Linked DNA regions of Homo sapiens: region 2 is linked to region 1. The links are contacts of gene promoters, found by promoter capture Hi-C in blood cells and fetal thymus (Javierre and others, 2016). All regions are on one chromosome and are shown on one strand. Each heading gives the region's core, a stretch centred on a gene start or on the middle of the fragment in contact. The rest is flanking DNA. Distances are from core to core; before and after follow the strand shown. Region 1 holds the start of GUCD1 (guanylyl cyclase domain containing 1). Region 2 holds the start of RAB36 (RAB36, member RAS oncogene family).

What was found. Contacts are between HindIII fragments. The CHiCAGO score rates a contact against its expected background, and 5 or more counts as called.
Region 2: the fragment with the promoter of RAB36 here is called in contact with the fragment with the promoter of GUCD1 in region 1 in 1 of 17 cell types (non-activated CD4 T cells); the score reaches 5.3 in non-activated CD4 T cells.

The regions. Positions count from the first base shown.
Region 1 is chr22:24,553,269-24,556,400 of GRCh38, reverse strand. GUCD1 (guanylyl cyclase domain containing 1) reads left to right here and starts at 1,263. Exons shown (of 6, transcript NM_001284254.2): 1 at 1,263-1,452. The coding sequence starts at 1,410. SNRPD3 (small nuclear ribonucleoprotein D3 polypeptide) reads right to left here and starts at 402. Exons shown (of 4, transcript NM_004175.5): 1 at 330-402. RefSeq lists an enhancer at 595-694 and a silencer at 1,155-1,514. The HindIII fragment of the contact is 4,396 bases long and covers 219-3,132 here.
Region 2 is chr22:23,143,944-23,146,772 of GRCh38, reverse strand. It overlaps RAB36 (RAB36, member RAS oncogene family), which reads right to left and starts at 1,296. Exons shown (of 11, transcript NM_004914.5): 1 at 1,222-1,296; 2 at 88-168. The coding sequence starts at 156. It also overlaps a transcript of RSPH14 not described here. RefSeq lists a silencer at 1,474-1,543. The HindIII fragment of the contact is 8,574 bases long and covers 1-2,372 here.

The DNA of each region.
Region 1 (3,132 bases), core at 14-2,513:
CGTCTCTACTTAAAAAAAAAAAAACAAAAAAAAACTCATAGGATTTGGGGGAAGGAGATAGTCAATCAGAAATGACTTCGAGATTACTGCCTGGAAGCTTTGAAAAACACTCACCTGGAGAGATACAGAATGTGAGAAGCATGCACGTTGAGGGGAAAGCTAATGAACTTACTTCCAGGAGCTAGTGAGGCGACGCTGATGTTTGGGTGGCCCAAGCTTCCCGCTTTCTTCCCTCCCCGAGCCCCGCAGAGTTCCATGCAGCAAGTCTTTCTCCAGCCCCTGGCCCCTCACAGGCGCCTCGACCTCCCCTCGCCCGTCCCCAGCCTCACCGGCTCTGGCCTACTTTTCTTCTCTTCGGTCCGCTGCGAAAGATGCTACGGCGAAGGCGTGAGTCAAGCGAATGGCGGGCCTAACACCCAGAATTCCACTCTTTCCCAAAATGCTGCGCGCAGGGCCCGCCTCCTTCCTTTCCCCAGTGTTGAGCGCGGTCTCGCCTCCGCTTCCTCCTCACTCCGCCTGCCGGCTGGGAAACTAGGGCACCAGTACGATAGTTCCGGCACCGGAAAAGAGGGCTGATGACTGGGCCCGGGGGCCGCCGCAACGACCCTTGGGGCCGGCAAAGAGCCAGAGAGGGTGCTCACACTTCCAAGCACCCCACACCAAGGACAGGCTGGACGGCAAGGCGGAGACGCGGGGCTTGGGCCCTCAGACCGGGGACAGCAGGAGGTTGGGCCAAGGGCCAGGACTTCCCGTCACAATTTCATTTGTTGATCCCGGCACCGCCAGGTAAGGGGGGCCCTGAGTGAGGCTAGGTATCTGGTACGGATAAAGTTAGGTATAGAGTAGAGCGGCTGCCCGCTCAGGGTTATCCCTAAAGACAGTTGGAGGAGAGTTGCTTGGGGCCTCGGGGATGCACTGGGCGGGATCAGGGCTTACACCTAGGACTGGCAAAAGAGCGGGACCCGGCAGAGGCGGGGCTTGCCGAAGGGACGAGCCTCTATTCAGGAAATGCACGAGCTTTGGGGCGGGGCTCAAAGAAAGGGGCGGGGCTTCCGGGGCCCGCGTCCTGGTGAGCTGCGCGTCTGCGCGAGGATTGGGCGAGAGGGTGGGGCCACTCAACGCTGAGGCGGCGAATGGCCGGAGCAGACTTAAATCAAGAGGCTGGGGACCTCTAAGATCAAAGTTTGGGGCGGGGCCTAAGGAGGGGGCGGGGCCTCCAGATTCGAGACCTGGAAGGGCTGGGGCGGCGCTTGGGGCGGCCCAGCCGCCGCCTCCCGTTCTCTCCTCCGCAGCGGCGGCGGTGGCGGAGAAGGAACTCGACACGCACCGACCGCCCTCCCGCCCCAGCCGAAGCGGAAGCTGTAGCCCGCTCTGGGCCGGGGCCATGGGCGCCCCGCGCCGCCCGGGTCATGAGGACGGAGGCGGAGGCAGCGGGGCCGCCGCTCGAGCCCGGTCAGTGCCTCTCTGTGGGCCCAGTCTTCACCCTAGGAACGAAAGGGACCCCTCCCTAGCGCGGGGCAGGGTCCAGTCGCGCGACCTTGGGCCGACTCCCGCCTCGCCCCCACACCCGCCTGGTTCCAGTCAGTGGGGGTTTCCTGACACTCGCAGGATTGCGACCCTTGTCAGCATGGTGGGAAGGTCCGGGTAGCAGGGGCACCACCTTCCCCAGAAGCGAAAAGTCCTGCTGGAGCCGCCTTGGGAGCTCCCATGCCTTGGGAAACCGTGGAGGACTGAGGCTGGGAAGGGCAGGAAACTGGCCGAGAGCACCGAGCAATGGAAGGGCCAGTGCCCTGGCCTCCGAGACTCGGCGTTTTGTCTTGCTCTTGTTCTTCACTTTCGTTCTCTCTGCCACGCGGTAGCCTGAGCCCCTTTGGGGCGGAGACCCGGACTGGTATTCAATGTCTTGGCCGTTAGTTTGCTTGCCCAAGACGTAGGGGAGGGGGAAGACGTGATTCCTGTCCTGCTGAAGGCGCGGGGTTGATGACAAACGGAGTTCTAGCTAGTAAACTCTGAAGTGAAGTGCCAACTGTGGAAGAGGTCAACAGCATGTGGGACCCTGACCTTCAGGTGTCACTCCCAGGGAGTGTTCCCTTTTGTGTCTGCTGTGTGGAGTTGGTGGGGGATTTACAACCCTCCTCCTCCAGTTGTCTAGCCCTGTGGTCTGAGACAAGATACTTGCCTTTCCTGAGCCTCAGAGGAGGAATGGCTTACATTCACAGGGAGTGTTCTATGAGGCAGGCGCGCGCTGCGTGCAGTTGTTTACATGCAGTGCCTCATTAATCCTCATAACGAACCAGTGAAGTAGGTGCCCACTGTGATTTGCACTTTTGCAGCTGAGCAGACTGAGTCTGAGATGGGTTAAGTATTAAAGGCTAGTGCACTGCTTGCCTTCCTTAGTGACAGCCACTAACTGAGCTCAGGCCAGGGCCTTCCAGGCAGCCCTTTGGCTCCAGGCAGCAACGTCTGGCTGTGGCTTTGTGTTTAGAAGGCTAAAGCTGTTATGGGGACAGATGCCAAGGCCTCGCCTAACCTTATCACCCCCAACATGAGCACCTCTAGGTCCGATCCGCCCTTGCCGAGGCTGGAGATGGCCCTGTGGGGCCTGCCAGGCCTCAGGATCAAGGAGTTCTAGAGCGCAGGGCAAGAGGAGGAGGCGCAGCTGAGTCTCTGAGAGAGAGCTGCTGTCTTGTGCCACATTTTATAGCTGGACATGGAAAGGCATGGACAGTCATAGCCTGGCAGAAGATAGCCCAGCTAGTCAGTGTCACAGCCCAAGCCACAGAGTAAGGAGGGAGCCTCACACAGAGGGCTGTAGTCTGGAAGCCTGGGGGAGGAGGGGTGCAGAGCAGGGAAGTGACAAGTAGGCCTGGGCATCTCAAGGTATGAGGTCTTTTTGGAAAACGCCTTCCATTCCCCAAGCATATCTAAGTGCCTACTCTGGGCTGAGGGTTGGAAGGAGGCAAATGCAACCTCATCCCCATCTGCCACTGAAGAATTCTCATTGCCTCTTTAAGGACTCCATATTGAGGGGCCCTGAGAGTGAGAGGGATTAGAGCATGGAGACAACATTAACATTTCAGACTAAGGCTCATCAGCTATCATTAGTGATAGTGTAGTTTATGTGTGGCCCAA
Region 2 (2,829 bases), core at 47-2,546, 1.4 Mb after region 1:
GCTTTACTTCTAGGCATGAGTGTAGAGTGGGGAGAGCTGATGTGGCTGCAGGGCCAGGAGAGCACTGCAGACGTAATGACTCTCTACCTTAGGGAAGCTGGCGATGACACGGTCGCGGCTCACAGGGGGCCCCAAAGGTGTCAGGGAGGACCTCATTCTTCCACAGTCCTGTGGACCCAACCAGGAGAAAGACAGTTAAGGAGCTGTGCAAATACCTGGGGATTCACCCATGAGTTTCCACCTAACTTTTCATCAGATCCAGGCTGGGTGCAGTGGCTCATGCCTGTAATCCCAGCACTTTGGGAGGCCAAGGTGGGAGGATCACTTGGGCCCAGGAGGTTGAGACCAGCCTGGGCAACAAAGTGAAACCTCAGTCTCTACAAAAAAAAACCAAAAAAATTAGCAGGGCATGGTGGCCTGTGCCTGCAGTCCCAGCTACTTGGGAGGAAGGTGGGAGGAATGCTTGAGCCTGGGAGGTCAAGGGTGCAGTGAACCGTGAAGGTGCCACTGCACTCCAGCCTGGGTGATAGAGTAAGACCTTGTCTCAAGAATTATAAATAAAACCAGATCCAGGCTTCCCTCTCTGTCAGGAATATGGGGCAGAGGCCATTTCTCTCAATCTGCATACAGCAGGCAGCATGGTATGGGGGAACCAGGCCTGCCCCACCCTGCCTGGGAGTCAGAAGACCTGGGTCTCCCCTTGACAGGTGTCTACCAAGGAGGAGCTCCCCTCTGAGCTTACCTTACTGGGCTGTGAGGCATGGCACAGCTCAGGCAGTGGAAGTAGAGTGGGGAGGGGTCTCCTGCTCCCAGTCTGCAAAGGACGAAGGCTCTAGGTGGGCCTGGGGGCCTTAACTTTCAGCCAACTAGGCCTTTTCCCTGAAAACCCTCACTTCACCAGGCCTCTGACTCCTCGAGCCTCCTCAACAGCCCCTCTGTCTCCTTTTTCTGTCCGGACTCCTCTCCAGGCTGGGCTGGGGTGGTCCTGGCGGAGTCCGGTTGTCTTCCCGCATCTGACCTGGCTCTCCTCCACAACCAGCGCGGGCCTGGCCCAGAGTTTGCGCTCCGGAAATGAGGACGCCCCGGGGCCGCAGGCCGCTTTCAAGTTATAGGGGCGGGAAGTGGGCGCGGACGCTGTGCCCTCGCGGCCCTGGCCTCGGGATGTGCCAGCACGGGGTTGGGTGACCGGGAGGGTCGGACAGAGTGGGCGAGCTGACTCACCAGCGATGGCTGTGAAAGCTGGGGCTCCGCGCGGCCTGGTCCGCCTGAGCCAGCGGCGGCGATCACCATGGCAACGAGAGCCACGCGGGACCTGCGGGCTACACGAATCGTCGACGTCGTGGGCGGGGTCTGCGTTGGACTGGCAGCGGCGCGTCCAAGCATCCAGCTTGCACCGGCGATCACCATAGCAACGAGAACCTGCCTGGAGTCTGGGCGGGGCTGGCAGCAGAGAGACTCCTGGACACCCTGGAGAGCCGGAGATCACCATGACAACAAGGGCGGTGCTGGATGGGTGGGCGGTGGGCGGGGCTATGGAGGCCCGGGGGCGGAGCCTGAGCCCTGGGTGGGGCTGACCGTGGAGAGATTCGCGCAGGTTCTGGTGATCAGCTCGGCTGGGAGAGGTTGGGCGGTTATGGCATAAGAGCTCCTGATGTGGTATTGATGTTTAATTGGAGTCAAGCACCCTGCAGCTGCAGAAGATAGACCTGCCTACCATCTACTGACCTTAGTCTGCATAGTTCTGAATCCAGTGCTGTCTGAATATCATATGCCTGGCTTCTAGAGCTCACGGTACAAAATTAATTTCCTTAATAAAAAGCTGACCTGAGTCAGTGATTTCCTCTGAACTAGTTTCGGTTTGGAAAGTTAGCTGTTTTGGGCTAGATGGCCTCTTGTGGCCCTTATAAAACCGTGGAACCAGCTTCGAAGTCCGGGGTTCAGTTTGAGAACCTACTTAATTCAGCTCCTTAACTTTTCTGCATCACAATATGGAAGCCTTGGTACACAGATCTAACTCAGTCATCTTCAATTCAAAGCTAAGTGTGCTGGAGGCTGGTGTTTGATGTCTTTTTTTTTTTTTTTTAAAGAGATGGAGTCTTGCTATGTTGTCCAGGCTGGACTCGAACTCCTAGGCTCAAGGAATCCTCCCGCCTCAGCCTCCCCAGTCCTTGGGACTACAGGCAAGGGCCACCACACCTGGCTCTGTTTAATGTCTTTTAGTGAGTTTCACTGCTAAGGTTGAGGCTTAGGGGGTGAACTTAGGTGAGTTGTTCCACCTTCCGCACCTCAGTTTACTCAACTATAAAATAAACGCAACTATCTATTTCAATGGATCACCTGAGATGGTGAAAGTGCTTTTATACTGTAAAGCTTGATTCAAGTCCATTAACTATTCATTTGTCCTACATGTACTGAAAGCTTCCTGGTATATGCCTAGCACTGGGGAGACAAGGAAAGAGAACGGACATGGTGTCCACCCTCAGGGAAATTGGAGTCCACTGCGGGAAGCAGAGAAGTAAATAGAGAATTAGGGGAAGGGAGTGTGCCAATGGGATTTAGGAGAAGGGAAGATTAAGCTGTGGGGTCACTTACTAATTTGGATTTGGGGATTTGGCAGGAGCTAGAGATCACCCTGAACTCCTCCTTTAGCTGTTTTTTTTTTTTTTTTTTTTTTTTTTTTGAGATGGAGTCTCACTCTGTCGCCCAGGCTGGAGTGCAGTAGTGTGATCTCGGCTCACTGCAATCTCCGCCTCCCGGCTCAAGCGATTCTCCTGCCTCAGCCTCCCGAGTAGCTGGGACCACAGGTGCGCACCAACCATGCTTGGCTAA